5 separate regions of the Homo sapiens genome follow, and regions 2, 3, 4 and 5 are each linked to region 1. The links are contacts of gene promoters, found by promoter capture Hi-C in blood cells and fetal thymus (Javierre and others, 2016). All regions are on one chromosome and are shown on one strand. Each heading gives the region's core, a stretch centred on a gene start or on the middle of the fragment in contact. The rest is flanking DNA. Distances are from core to core; before and after follow the strand shown.

Region 1 (2,906 bases), core at 135-2,634:
CAGAAACAAGAACCACCATCAATACAATCACGGTAACAGGACACCTCCATTAATAAAACACACAGTTGTCTTGGGGTCAGCCTGCTGAGTATCAAACTGCATTCCAAGTTTCAAATAAAGGATTGACAAACCAACTTTCAGAAAACAGTTCTTTGCAATACTTAGGAGTGACTTTAGATAGCAGGCATTTCTCAAACCACCCTCCTCCTCCTCACCCCCTGCTCCCCAACTCCCCCATCCAATGCCTGACAAAATCCCAAAGTCTGCAATATTAGCTGTAGCCTTTGCTACTTACAACTAAACATAATCATTAAAATAAAGTGAAAGAGAATTCTAGATCCAGGGTTACAGCCTTTGATATCTGAACCCACACTAAACTTCAAAATTAGATTTGCCTTGCAAAGGAGCTGAAGAAATCACTTTCTCCACTCTTAGCCCATCTATCTTTTTTTAGCCTATCTGATGCAGCCTACCTGTCCTTTTTAGTAATGCTTGATACATGGGTAGCGCCTTGGTTTAAAAGCACCTCCTCCTACACCTCTCATCTGACCTCAACGCTATCCTGCTTCTCAGATGAGAACTCCACAGGCCACAGGGTTGAGGGATCTGACAGACATCAGGAGGGGACAGCGACAGGAACAAGCAAGAGTGTCTGAGAAGGGCTCCTGTAGGTACCAAAGCTTCTCCACCTCTGGCCTCAGCTGTGGAGGGAATTCGTGGGGATGGAGATGGGGATGGGGGTGGGGGGATGAACTTAGATGGGAAAGAAAGGTTACAACTTCAGTTTCGCTGTCCTCCAACTAAAATTTACCATTTTTTTTTTGCACGATCAATGTAGCAAAGACCCACAGTAAGGAAATACCTGTGACTATCAACAGAAATTAGACATCTCCACTTCACATCGCGGTTGCCGCAGATCTCTTGAAATACCATTTGTGCAGACCACAACGTCAACACTACAGTAGGAGTTACCGCTGCCGCTGGCCCCTGCGGTTTCTGCCCTTCATCAAGAAGCCAGTCTAGGACCCCCTCACAAGTGTGTTCTAATCCTTTAGGCCCTGTGTCTTTTAAATCACGTTTTCCGGGAAGGAGTACAAACTCTTCAGACTACCAAGCCCGCCATTTAAATTGGGAACTTCAGAGGCCGGAGCCCTGGAGCCGGAGACCCTCCCCGACAGCACAAGGTCGCCCGCAGCCCGCGCGCCCCCACCCCCTCGACCTCTTGGAGGTGGGGATCCCCTCAGGGTTACCTGGGGGCCCCGTTAGGAACACGTGCCGGGCCATACTGGTGGGCGGGGGTAGGGGTTGCGGTCAGGGGAGCAGTCCAGGTTGGGGTCGCAATTCAGGTCAGGTCCGGACCAGGGTCGCGACTCAGGACCCGCCCACCGCGTGTCGCAGGCCCCGCCCCCAAGCGGTGCTTTGACCGGAAGCACCGCCCTCAAGACCACGCATGCGCCTTCTCCCGAGTCCCCGGTCCGCGCCTGCGCATTCAGCCCTCGGCATTGGCGCCTGTGCCGCGGCAGTTCCTATAGGCGGAGCGGGTTGTACGGTCTCTTAAGTTTCATTCTGGGTTCAGGGCTTTTGTGGGGTATTTGCAGAGATAAGTGCGTGAGAACGTCAGTTATTAAACTATTGCTGCTTCAAGTCAGCGCCATCACCCAAGTTCTGCCCCTTGACTCCGGACCTAGGAGCTGAAATTGCCCAAGGCTGCCGGGACAGCCCTTTTGTAGAAGGTTTGTGACCTGGAAGCATTCCTCAAAGGGGGATGCCATGTTAATGACTCCAACTTTGTTCTCAAACATTCCTGCAGAATAGAATCAGCTGGGGAGTTTTAAACTTGCTCTGATGCCTGGGTTTCACCTGCAGTAATAGGGAGTGTCAGAAGACAAAATTACAAGTTTAGTTTAAAGATCTAATTGGCTTATATTTAGGATCTAGAATCGAGAAATAGATCATTTCATAAAGCAAATAGAGTGTTCCAATGAGTTGTGCAGAGGAGGTTGGCTTTATGGGCAAAAAAAGGCTGAAGAACAAAACAAAGAGTGGGTATTTCAAAGTTACTTTCCTTATAGGGTTAAAACAGATTGGACTTCGTTATTGTACTGACTCAGGTTAACTACAATCTCCTGTTTTTTGGGAAAACGGGCCTGTTTCAAAGTTCAGTTTGGTTACATGGCACTTGGCACAAGTGACTCCATTCTGGTTTGGTCTAGTCTGCTAGGACCTAGTGCAGGAGGTTAGTCCAAAACAATGGCCTCCCATAAATCTTGTTTAACATGAGTAATTGGTCTTGAGCGAGTCTTGAGCACCTGTATTCTTTTTTCTTCTTTCTAAACTCCAGGAAGTTCCTGAAGTGCGCTAGGGTTGAGAACCACTGGTGTAGGCAGGCTTCCCGTCCTCAGCCATGCATAGGACGCCCAGTTTTCCCTCTTTACTTTCACACCAAAGTGTATAAAGATCTCCTCTTGCAAAGAATTAAATAGCTTCTCCGTCTCACTTTACCACTGCAAGTGTTCCGGCCAACGAATGACGTGGCAGTGGCCTTGGGCCACATTTACCTGTAAACTCTTTCAGTCTAACATGTGTACAGCTTAATTTGTAGTCAGTCGTTCCCCATCCTGGCTGAGAAAGCAGTTCAGTGAGTGCTCAACTTAATTGGTTTCTGCCCACACATGGACCTCTTGGTTTCCCTTTAGCCTGAGACATATGCCAGTCCAATGATTATCTAAAAAAACAAAGTTGGATTTGTAAAATATAGCTGTCATCACCATCATTTCTGCAACATTTGTAATGCTCTATTATTATAACAGTATACTATTTATTATCCCAACTGTTAATGTAGGGCCTTCCACCTTGATTTATTTTGCAGTCCATATATGTTGAATACAGTGAAAAGTTGATATAGT
Region 2 (2,906 bases), core at 214-2,713, 330 kb after region 1:
GAGAGAGGGAGGGAACTAAAGAAGGTGTGTGCATATAAGAATGGCGGAATTACCGACTCACTATCACTGAAAGGGGGAAGTGGAGGCTGAGGGTTGGGCTAATGAGCTCATTGTTCTGGTCTAAAAACTGCCCTGTTCTCTCAGCCAGTGAATTGTCTGTTATTAACTAGAAATTTTGTAATTTGTGGTGAGGTAGCAGTTTTACTGATTGAATCAGGTTATATATTCTTTGTTGGGAAGTGAGTGGGTCCTTCTGTGATCATGCAGAGAACATTTTTTTTAGCCCGAGTCTTTGCCAAGATTAAAAGAAATATAAGAGGAAAACAATTTTTGTTTTGCATTTATATTTTGCTAGATTTGCATAATCTTTGTTTAAGCCAGTTGAATGTGAATCCCTAAATACATTTCAGGCATTTAAATATTTAAAAGGATTCATCCACAGTACTTTACTCACCCAAAGAATAAGTGCTTACAACAAAGAAAATAACACCCTTGCAGATGTAGCCTATGTAGACTTTGTTCACCTTGTCATTGAATTATACAACATTAATAGAGAAGCTAGAATTTGAACATTCACTGAAATGCTTAGCTGGCTCTGTTCCAAAATATTGTTTCCCTGGTAGAGAAAGCAGGACAATTTGTTTAAAACTGGCAGTTTGCCAGTCAGAATAGCTCTGACGCAATCATTGCAGTAACTACTTTGCTCTGACTGCTAATTTTAGGGCAGTTAAATCTGGGTGATGTCTGATGGCTGCTGTCGCTGTGCGTCTGGTTATGTGAAGCTTTCTAAATTCATCCTCTTAGCTTGGCACCGTAACTTAGTTCTTTCTGAGATAAGCTGTGGAGCAGAGGGGATGTTGAGTCGGCACAGGATATGTGCATGGAATGAGGAACAAGGCCCTAGGAGAGTTTCAAGAGACACTGCTTTCATCTTACTACGCTCTTTGTTATTCCAATAGCAAAGGCTTAGCACATCTGTACTTCCCTTGCTGTAGCACCCTGGGAGGTGTTGAGGAAGGTGGAGAGAAGTGTACATCGAGACACCTACCTTCATGGAACAGGGTTCTGGCAATATGCACTTGCTTTCCTTGTCATCCCTGCAAGCATTAGTGTGTTTAAAAGTGAACTTTTATCTTCTTCCTTTTTGGAACAGGTAAAACTACGGAGAAAAATGGTAATTTAAAAAAATCTGGCCGGGCGTGGTGGCTCATGCCCATAATCCCAGCACTTTGGGAGGCTGAGGCGGGCGGATCATGAGTTCAGGAGTTCAAGACCAGCCTGACCAACATGGTGAAACCCCGTCTCTACTAAAAATACAAAAATTAGCCAGGCTTGGCAGCGCGTGCCTGTAATCCCAGCTACTCAGGAGGCTGAGGCGGGAGAAACGCTTGAACTCGGGAGGCGGAGGTTGCAGTGAGCTGAGATCGCGCCACTGCACTCCAGCCTGGTGAGAGAGCAAGACTCCATCTTAAAAAAAAAATCTATTTGGAGCATTTAAGAGCAGAGTAGAATATCCTGCTATTGCAGATGATACAAGTGGGATAAGGGGTTCTTCCATGGCCTTGTCTAACTCCCTCAGCTTTCTGGGGCAGTGACTATAATCCAATTTTAAAATAAGGATGTGGGACCATGCCATCTTGAAGTCTTTTTAAATGCTGGCATTCTAAGATTTCCAAGTTAACAGGGGCACCCTAGGGTGTGAGACCCCTGAGGACAGGGATCTTGTCCTTCCATCCCTTCCATCCCGTCCTGGGTAGCTGTCAGGCAGAGTCAGCAAATTAACTGACTCTTAGAATTTAGTCCTCGGAGGGACTTTGAGTGTTCTTCTAGTTAAACTTCCTGATGTTACTGATTCAGAACTATCAGAGGGCATGATTTAATCACTAGAGCTATTGTGTAGTAGCATGGGCTACCTTATTAGGTGATGAATGCACTGCCTTCTTAGGTGATGAACTAACTAACTTGGGCAGAGTTGATGGCTATGTGTCAGGTGTATTAGAAAAAGATTCCTGTGTAAATGAGACCATATGATAGATGGGCGCTACAGCTTCTTTCAGATGAAAGACTGTGTGGTTAGCTGAGAATAAGGTGGGTTTGCATGGTTAGGAAAACATTCAAGGAAGATAGAACTTGAGTTAAGCTTTGGAAAATGGTTAGGATTTGAGTTTTTGTTGAGGGCCTCTTGTGTGCAGGGAAACTGTAGGCCCTCTCCAAGACCAGAAGATACATACAGAACACTCTCAGTTGTTCCTTTGATCACAGTACTATCTCTATTAAAATGATCTGCTTAAATACAAACTCATCTTTTTGCCTGGTTTAGGTTTTGCAACTCCAGAGATGCATTTTATTAACAAAAGCAACATTAAGGAGAAGTGACGGACAGTATTTTCAAAGTGGTGATAATTACTTTGTCTATCACGTAAGATGGTCATTATGTTTTTTTTCCTCACTGTAATTTACTGAAGGTTATAGACTGTGTCATAAAACTAAAGGAAAAATTACTTTGGATATACAGAGATATAAATGACGTTTTGGTATAAAATTACTGAATTCATTTCAGTTAGTTGACAGAATATACACATAGTATTATATTTGCAACTCAAGGTCATGTGTTTTGTTTTGAGACTTTATACTTAGGAATATATAACTTGATAATTGATACACTGAAGTGATTTATTTTAAAATTATGCGGAGTAACAAGAGTTTTTTTTTTTTTTTTTGAGATGGAGTCTCACTCTGTCCCTCAGGCTGGAGTGCACTGGTGCAATCTTGGCTCACTGCAACCTCCGACTCTTGGGTTGAAGCGATTCTCCTGCCTCAGCCTCCTGATTAGCTGGGATTATAGGCGCACGCCACCATGCCCAGCTAATTTTTGTATTTTTAGTAGAGACGGGGTTTCACCATCT
Region 3 (2,906 bases), core at 138-2,637, 310 kb before region 1:
CAGTACCCCAAACTCCATGACAGATTTGGAAAGCTCCCTCCACCTGAGGGTGGTTGGCACAGAGAAGACCAGTGTAAAGTCTGACGCTGAGCCCACTAACCCAGGGGCGGCCGGTTCTCCAAATGCCGAGCAGATCTCAATTCCTGTAATCACCCTGGACCTGCCTGAGGGTGGGGGAGGAGGTGTTCCCTGTCCCGAAGGCAATGGAAGTGAAAGGACTCCAGAGAGACTGAAGACGAGGGTATCCACCAATCAGTGTTCTGGCTACGGATCTGGGGAGGGGGGAAATGCCATCAAGGATCACAGTTCTTCATCACGGGAACCCTGGGAATCGGTGTCCCGGCTTACACCTGATACAGGCTCCGAGTCTAAGGTGGGGAAGGAAGGCCAGACTAACCTTGACCCATCGTCTTGTAAGTCCAGCCATGAAAAGAGGCATGCCCGGGTGCTCAGTGTGGACAGTGGGACAGATGTCTTCTTGAGTAAAAGTTCTGCAGAAATTGTTAACGATACAGAGAAAACAATGCCAACTTCCAAATCTGACCTAGAGGCTAAGGAAGGACAAATGCCAAATGAGTCCAACTTCCTGGAATTTGTCTCCCTGTTAGAATCCATTAATACTTCCAAGATGACGGCATCCAGTCAACTGAATGGCTCAGCTGAGCAGAATGAAGAAAGTGGGCTTCTCCGAGGTGCGATTCCATGTCATTTCCGTTCTGATGATGACATAGAAGGCAATACACCTTTTTGCCATTTGCCTTGTGTAATTTGATTTTGCAAATAGTGAGACAACTCTTGGGCAATCGTTTGTTGCTTGGCTTTCTCATCAATATTTGCTGAATGTACCGATACTAAGCTCTGTGATGAACATGTATACATATATTGTCCTACTCTACCAGGACACTTAAGGCATTGTCATAATTTTTTTGCTTCCCTATAGAAGGCAAGACTATTTACTCCCAGAGAAATAAGCAATTATATTTTACTACTGTGGCAAGTACTCGCAATAGATATTTCTTACTTTATGGAATAGATGCCTTCTGGGAAAGTTGATTCTAAGACAAATTTCTGTGAAGTGAATCTACTTTTCCTGCTGAGTTCTATTATAAAATACAGAATCCGCTAATTATCCCATGTTGTACACATAATAATAACAAACACTTCTGCCGCTCTTAATTTATGCCAGGCAGTGTTCTAAGCACTTTGCATGTATTAACGAGGGTGACTGTACCTTGTGGTTTGCCTGGAAGGGTTCTCATTTACACATGTTTTGCCAACATAATTATTAAGAGCACTGACTTTGTCTCTCAAAAGAGTCCCCAGTTTAGATGATAAATTATACAGTTACTCTCATATTAACTCACTTACTCCTTATATAACTTTACGTTATGGATATACCATCATCCTTCCTGTTCTTCGGATGAGTCTCAGAAATTTTCACTTGCTTTCCCAAGTATCTAGTAAGTTCAGGAGGTGCTGGAACTGAGATTTGATTCCAGGCAGTCTTGTTCCACAGTCCTTGCTCATAAAAATTAAATGATATTTCCTATATGAAGATAAGGTACATTTATTTTCAGGTTACTTAATGTCTCTGGGCCTCAGTTTCCTCATGGATAAAATGATGTTACTGGACTAGAGCTTTTATAAGGTCTTTTAGCTTTAAATTCTGTTACTGCTGTGATTTCTGAGCATATCATTTCTACATAGATCTGTATTGAGATAGCATCTGTATGGTAGGAATGCTGACTGAAAGTTGTGTTTGCATATGGTAGCTCATTTTCTGTGCTGTAGGTAGTAACGTTTCTTAGTGCTGGGATTTTTCCTCTGCTTTCTGGACAGCCAGGAGCTCCTCTGGCTCCATACTGGTTGCTCTGAGCAATTTTTTCTGATTCAGTTAAACTTTTTAACAGACAGGGCGGTATATAAAGCAGGAGTAACCTGAGATAAAAACTTTTGTATTTAAAGATTTGGGTGTTTATCATCTATCTAATATAAAGATTCATACCTCTAGGCTAGCACTGTCCAATAAAATTTTCTGCAGTGATAGAAATATTCCATATCTGCAGTCCAATATGGTAGCCAGTGGCCACAGGTAGCTATTTAATACTTTAAAAGGGGGTTGTGTAGATGAGAACTGGCATTTTTAATTTCATTAGATTTTAATTCATTTAAGTAGCCATGTGGCTATTGGCTACTGTATTAGCCAGTGATAACCCAGAGCGCATGAAGGCCTTCCCAGAAGCAGTGTGTCCAGTGGATAGAGCACTGACTTTGGAATCAGATAGCCCAAGGCCAGATTTTGGTTCAGTAATACCAGCTGGTTGAGCTTGGACAATTGATCAAATCCATCTGTGTTGGAGTTTCTTCTACAGAGCAGGAATCATAATATGTTGTAGATTTATTGTGAGGATTCAATTAGGAAAATATGTGAAAAATTTTGCTATTTGATCAATTTTAGTCTTTTATTTTTGTTTTCCCCTCAGGCTGTATGTAAAGTTTATTTGGTTTGCCTACTTGAGTTTTTGCTCTTCTTAATTTTTTCAGCCAGCCACATTCAATCAGAAGGGTTAAACTGGAAATTGAGGTTGTGTGCAGGGAGATATGAGGTATTCTATGGGAAGAGATAGGCTTAGTTATCAAGAACTTGAAGGTACAGCAGGAAGGGAGGAGTTGGAATAAATTACATGCTTCTTTTAGGAAAGGACAGAGGATTTTAATTGAAGAAAGAGACAGTGAATCTTTTAGCTCGTAGAAGGCCATCAACGTCAAAGGTGGCAAATTAGATGGTTTTTCAGTGATGCCATGTATCTTTGAGACTGGTAATATCCTTACTCTTCTTTCACTAAAGTATTTGTTATTATAATCTGAAAACCCAGTTTTTGAGTGTGTTTATAAAACAACATGTT
Region 4 (2,906 bases), core at 302-2,801, 290 kb after region 1:
AAAAATAAAATTTTGGTACATTTTAGTGAGACACTCTGGTGTAAATGCTGTAGAAGGCTCTTGTGGTTAGAATAAATCTTCAAGATGAAAAAACTGTGATTTTTGTGTCCATTTTGAGAAAGTCAATGGGCCTGGAGGAAATAAATTGCAGTAGTGGAGGAAAGTGCCTCTCTAGATATATTGATGATTTTAGTGTGAGTTGCAAAAAGCTTTTTTGAAGGATAAAATACATAAGTACTACAGAGAAGGTGCCAAAGTTGGGTGAAACAAGGTTTTTGTACACCTTCCCCTTCAGTGTTTTAAAGCATGAGGTGAAGAAATTAGATCCGAGTGGGAAATCTTATGTTATTTAATACTTCTCTTCGAATAAGCTGGTATGTTACCTCTGCTATTATTATTGTCAAGTTGATTGAAAACCTGTAAAAGGCATCAGTCAGGCTGTGGAAGTCTGAAAACCTGTAACAGGCATCAGTTCAGCTGTGGAAGGCTGAAAACTTGTAACAGGCATCAGTTTGGCTGTGGAAGGCTGACTTACCAAAACAGCAGCTGATTCACAACGTTTCCTGTTTTACCTAAAGTCATTTTGCTTCCTTTAATTCAGAACATGTGGCTTTTGCTGAATTAATACATCAAATTTATTTCATCTGTTAACAAGACTATAGTAGTTAATGGTGGGCAGAGGGTAGGGAAAGGATACATTTCCCCTATTGCTATCATAAAGGACTGTAGTTACCAGCTTGTTGCTGAAAGGTTCTAAGGAGAGAGGTCTGTGTTTACCCAAGTCACTATCTTTTCTTTGTGAAAATGTGTAAATGGTCAGCTCAAAGCAAAAATCTCCCAGCCCTTAAGAGTCAGCGTTGAATCTGCTCTATTCAGTGAAGATTAACTATTTGCTTATATCCCAGAAAAACTCATTTTGAAATTGCCTTAAAGAGGATAAAAATCCTGGTTAGCCACCAACGCAGCTTTATGAAATACAAACCTGGTCAGGCCAATCAAGTCCTTTTCTTTGATGAAAATAAGCCAGGGAGAACCCCAGAAAATCACTGGTATCTTAGCTTCACAGAGACTTTTATTCTGGTCTATGTATCATACGAAAATACTAGGGCTACACGAGCTAACTTAGCTCATAGTTATTATATGACCATACACATGGTGGGGAATTCATGTGCAAGAGAGGACTTTTAAAAATAGCAATACCAACTTAAAATTTCATGGCAATCATTGCTCACAGGATATTGGTTCTAGACCCAGCACTGCATAACCCCTGGATGGTGGAATGAGAGTATCCTTCATTGGTTTCGCAGTTAACACTAAGATATGTGGGGCAGAGATCTTGAAATATAGGACTATAGGAATTTATTGTGTTTTCAATAAACCGGCAACTTGAACTAAGAAAAGTACATCAAGGGCAGAGAAAATGCATAAATACAAGACAAAACAATTCTATATACATAAATGGCAGGAAAAGATTGAGGGGCTACAGTAGATAAGGAGCTGATGTCCTATCAGTAGGATAAAAAGGCTGAGTGCATCCCAAGTAGGAACCATAAAGTACTGCATCAGAACGGGACCTGAATCCATACTAACAGAATTCTGAGTCCCAGAAAAAAATGAGCTAGAGTAATTGGAGAGAGTGTACAGCATACCTCCAAACACAGTTTTAAGGAACAGTTAAAGTTTTGGCAGTATTCCGTTTCTAAAAGAAATGGCTGAGAAGTGATACTACAGGCTTCGTGAAAACAAAAGCCATTAATTATATGGTAAATTTTCCATCTTCACTGAGATGCAAAGAAAGCCACAGGGACTGAAGCTATAATATAAGAATTTATGTATTGTGCCTTTGGAATGTTATCAAACACTTTCCATTTTAGTTCCTTCTCTGAACTTGTTTAATTCAGTCCAGGAAAACTGAGATGTGATCCTGCCGAGAGCTAGAGTGGTCAAGATGATTTTCCCTGGTCCTTTCTAGATCAACGTTTGCATACCATTTTCATAGGCCTTAGGACCTTTAATTCTCAAGATATCTCCACTGTGTAGGAATTATTAGTCCCTGGTTACAGATGTGTATGCCAAATCTCAGAGAGATGAAATTTCCCCTCTGACCTTGAACTCAGATTTACCAACTGCAATTCTCATGCATTTTCAATGATGTCTTGCTGCCTACAGTTACAAGAAAATAAATGTGTCTCTTTCTCTTGTTATAAATCCTTGCAAAGAAGAGATGAACTGTGATGTGTTTCGTAAGAGAAATTGTCCCCCTAGGCTTCTTTCTCTAAGGCAGAGATCAAGATAGCATAAGCAAGTGTGCAGCCCTCAGGTTTAGGGGAAGGGCTGGTGGATGAGAGGCTTTGGAAAATTATCTAGTTCATTTTCTTCTTCTTTTCTTCAGCACAGTCTACTTCTGGATCAATCATATTATCTATTTATGGAGGACATTTAGGTGTGAGATACATAGTACCTATATCTTCCTGAAGGCTGTCTTCAGCTTCTCAATTTGGGCTGCTGTGTGTGTGTGTGTTTTTTTCCTTCATGTCTAAAGTTTAAGAGCTCAGATTTTGTCTTACTGTGTAGCATAAAGATGCTGAGTCTGATACCAACTGCCTCCATGTCACATGGCCAAGCAAATGTCACCATGATTTGTTCACTTGGAATTGATCTGAAGATATTGCAATAGGTCTTTTAAAATTGTTTCCATAATTATTTTTATGTAGAATTCAAAGTTGTCTGTTATCTATTGTGAGGAAAAATCAGTTAAAAAGAAGGATTTCATTTTTGGCAGGGAAAGCAATACAACTGGAAGTGCAATTTCATCACATTCCTGGAGAGATTATATGGTGGCCATTTCCCAATCAGCAATACAGAGGGGAATTTATTTTCTATTCAAAGCTTTCCTTTCTAATGCA
Region 5 (2,906 bases), core at 290-2,789, 290 kb before region 1:
ACTTTTGTTCTCTGGGGCATTTTCTCTGAAAGCCTGAGAATTGGCCCTGCCGCTCAGTGTGGTTCTGTTCCGGTGGCAACAGCCACTGCTGCCACATGATGGCAGTCAGGTCCCATGCTCCCAGCCTTGCCTCACTTCCACGGTGTTGCTGCCTTTTTCTCCGATACTCACACAAATTTTACTGTCACATAAAAGGAGAATTGAACAAGAATCCCTGTTAAAATTCAAAATAACAGGTTATGGTTTTCAGAACAGTGCTGCTTTAGTTAAACATCCTACATGTTGAACATGTTGCTGGGACTTTCATTTCTGTGTCCCTCTATGCGCCTTGTGCCCATGTCCCTGGAGGAAGCCTGAAAAACAAGGAAAGAGGCAGAAAAAGGGAGGCCCTCTCTCTGAGAGTGATAGGCTATCGTCTTTAAACTCTGGGGAAGATGAAGAATTTCAAGAAATGTTTTTCCAATATCAGTGAGACAGTGTAGAAGAAGCACATGTATTTTGACTGTCTGTTGCTTGTAGAAGCTCAGATGGTGGAAACCTGGTGAGTCCAGTATGGTGGAATATCGTCATGGTCAATTTGAGGCCCAACTCCTTCCATACAGAAGTGCACTCTTCTGGCCCAGACTAGATCCTAGCCCCAGGCCCGTCTTTATTACCTTCTAGTGGCAGCACTTTTAGAAATTTCCACCATTAATCACTATTTCTGCTATTGCTTGGAGCTCAATCTAGCTTAAATAAACTTATCTCTGCTATAGCCCTGAACCAAACTAGTTTACCAAAGATTCACCAGAGAACGGGATAATTGAGACCAGATGTGCTAAGTATCGTGTACTGTAGTTCACAGAATAGTTACTACAGGCTTGGGATATTTCCATTTCCATTATTGTTTTGGAGGAAGAGAAAATGTCTCTTGAAACTTAACGCTTTCACTTTATATGTATTAATGTGGGAAACGCTTTGGCTTTAAGTTACTAAGATACTGTCTTTTTAGATGATTATGCTGCTCACAGTCTATAACTTAAAAAAAATGAGAGAGAATAAGCAGCAAATACTTGGAGAAGAGACGCTAGCAAAGAACATAGACTTTGGAATTATTCAAAGATTGCGCTCCTGTCCACCTGTCCGTTTCAGTGATTTTTGTGGACATCATCGTCTCTTTGGTACTTGGGTGGGCAAGCTGGATTATAACTACACTATCAGGACACCAGAGAATTATATCACATAAGGGAAACGTCTCCATTTGAGCAATGCTTACTGTAAGCATGTAACCATTTCCTCCTGGCCAAATGGAGAGCCCATATACACATGACAATACAGATGACAATACAGGTTTCTGATGCAGACATATACCAGTCATTAAGCTCAGAAGAGAATCTTTCTTATATGCCCATGCCTTGTCTGGAATACTCAACCCTCATAAAAGAGGTTAATTAAGAGGGAAGTTAATATGCTGTTTGAGACTGTCTTTATAAAATAAGGAGGATTAGGTGTGATTTGAGGGCAAGATACTCTTCCCCCATGCCTGCTAACAGAGACACCTGAAATTAATATACCATTTGCATAAAAGCATAGGAGTTATGTTGCTATTTAATATAAGAAAAAGCAAAGTCAATCCTATATCAACAAAAGGAAGTAAAAAGGGCCAGGGATGGTTATGAAGTACATAATATATGAAAGGCAGTGTTCACTGCTTTACATACATAGTCTGGTTTAGTTTTCACAATGATACCTACGAGGAAAATATCTTCCTGATTTAATAGGGAGGATTTAAGGTAGGAAGACAACATGCTTATAGTCACAGATAGTGAGTAGTATACTTTAACCTAGTTCTGTTTAATTCTAGAACTGACCCAAAAGATCTTAAATAGAAAATCAACCCATAGATTTTTTAAAGGATATTTAAATGGCTTATATAGGAAAATGATGTTTATTATTATTATTATTTTACAATCTGAAATGTACTAAGAAATATGGAAAAATTAAGCTGATATGTATTGATTGACACTTCCTTTGTATCATGTTTCCTAGCAGGACACCTTAGTAGGAGGAAGACTGCTCTAAAACAGCCATTCGTTACACATTATGTCGTAGTCAATTCTTAGTTTATTTCAGTTGGCGATAGAGGGTGCTGTACACCTTCTACTTTTTTGCACAGAAGCGTACATTTCTTTTCCCACTCTTGCCTATTTATGATCATTACCTACCTTACCTACAATGTAGTTAGCTTAATCTTTTGTTTGTAGTGAAGTTCTGGCATGTGCTCCGTTTAAGATATCTCTGAATTTGTGTCAACATTGCAATTTCAGTTCTGTTGTATTTCGATGTGAAATGACAGAGTTACATTACTCAGTGGCTTCCGTACAACGCAGAAGAGTTTGAATGAACATTGTTTTTATAAATCTAACTAATCTTTTTCTCTGTTAACGACAGAGATTATGCCACTAATATAGACAAGAAGGAAAAGCATTATTTTAGGAGCAAACATTAAATAATGGAAGCACAGGATTTTTAAGTTTTCAAACTCTACGTACTTACTCTACCTGGTTCACGTCCTAAACCCTGACTTCATCATGTTATGTTTCCTAAGCGGTTCTTTATATGAAGACTTTATTGAATGTATTGAAGTTTATGTTTATTTACATGTGTGTATGAAAGTTGCTTTTTTTTTTTTTTTGAGACAGGATCTTACTCTGTTCACATAGGCTGTAGTGCAGTGGCATGATGATGGCTTACTGCAGCCTAGACCTCCCAGGCTCAAGTGGTCCTCCCACCTCAGCCTCCCAAGTAGCTGGGACTACAGGCATGTGCCACCATGCCCAGCTAATTTTTTTTCTATTTTTGTAGCGCTTAGGTCTCACTGTGTTGCCAGGGCTGGTCTTGAACTCCTGGGCTCAAGCAGTCCTCCT

The links. The method cuts DNA at HindIII sites, captures the fragments that hold promoters and counts their contacts. A CHiCAGO score of 5 or more calls a contact.
Region 2: a fragment that was not itself captured here is called in contact with the fragment with the promoter of NTPCR in region 1 in 4 of 17 cell types (activated CD4 T cells, erythroblasts, megakaryocytes and 1 more); the score reaches 5.4 in activated CD4 T cells.
Region 3: a contact is called between a fragment that was not itself captured here and the fragment with the promoter of NTPCR in region 1, in 1 of 17 cell types (neutrophils). The highest score is 5.5, in neutrophils.
Region 4: a fragment that was not itself captured here is called in contact with the fragment with the promoter of NTPCR in region 1 in 2 of 17 cell types (M1 macrophages and M0 macrophages); the score reaches 6.5 in M1 macrophages.
Region 5: a contact is called between a fragment that was not itself captured here and the fragment with the promoter of NTPCR in region 1, in 3 of 17 cell types (neutrophils, M1 macrophages and M2 macrophages). The highest score is 7.8, in neutrophils.

What each region holds. Positions count from the first base shown.
Region 1 is chr1:232,949,089-232,951,994 of GRCh38, reverse strand. It overlaps NTPCR (nucleoside-triphosphatase, cancer-related), which reads right to left and starts at 1,384. Exons shown (of 5, transcript NM_032324.3): 1 at 1,251-1,384. The coding sequence starts at 1,284. It overlaps LOC107985361 (a long non-coding RNA gene), which reads left to right and starts at 446. Exons shown (of 2, transcript XR_001738525.2): 1 at 446-667; 2 at 839-2,906. RefSeq lists enhancers at 569-1,108, 1,109-1,650, 1,563-1,662. The HindIII fragment of the contact is 8,064 bases long and covers 683-2,906 here.
Region 2 is chr1:232,618,468-232,621,373 of GRCh38, reverse strand. The region is part of intron 1 of SIPA1L2 (signal induced proliferation associated 1 like 2); the gene reads left to right. Among named protein-coding and RNA genes, the nearest start is that of SIPA1L2, 10 kb to the left of the region's middle. The HindIII fragment of the contact is 1,358 bases long and covers 785-2,142 here.
Region 3 is chr1:233,255,814-233,258,719 of GRCh38, reverse strand. It overlaps PCNX2 (pecanex 2), which reads left to right. Exons shown (of 34, transcript NM_014801.4): 5 at 1-692. Among named protein-coding and RNA genes, the nearest start is that of PCNX2, 38 kb to the left of the region's middle. RefSeq lists an enhancer at 1-860. The HindIII fragment of the contact is 3,879 bases long and covers 1-2,906 here.
Region 4 is chr1:232,657,621-232,660,526 of GRCh38, reverse strand. No RefSeq gene overlaps it. Among named protein-coding and RNA genes, the nearest start is that of SIPA1L2, 29 kb to the right of the region's middle. The HindIII fragment of the contact is 2,680 bases long and covers 212-2,891 here.
Region 5 is chr1:233,238,462-233,241,367 of GRCh38, reverse strand. The region is part of intron 8 of PCNX2 (pecanex 2); the gene reads left to right. Among named protein-coding and RNA genes, the nearest start is that of PCNX2, 56 kb to the left of the region's middle. The HindIII fragment of the contact is 5,656 bases long and covers 1-2,906 here.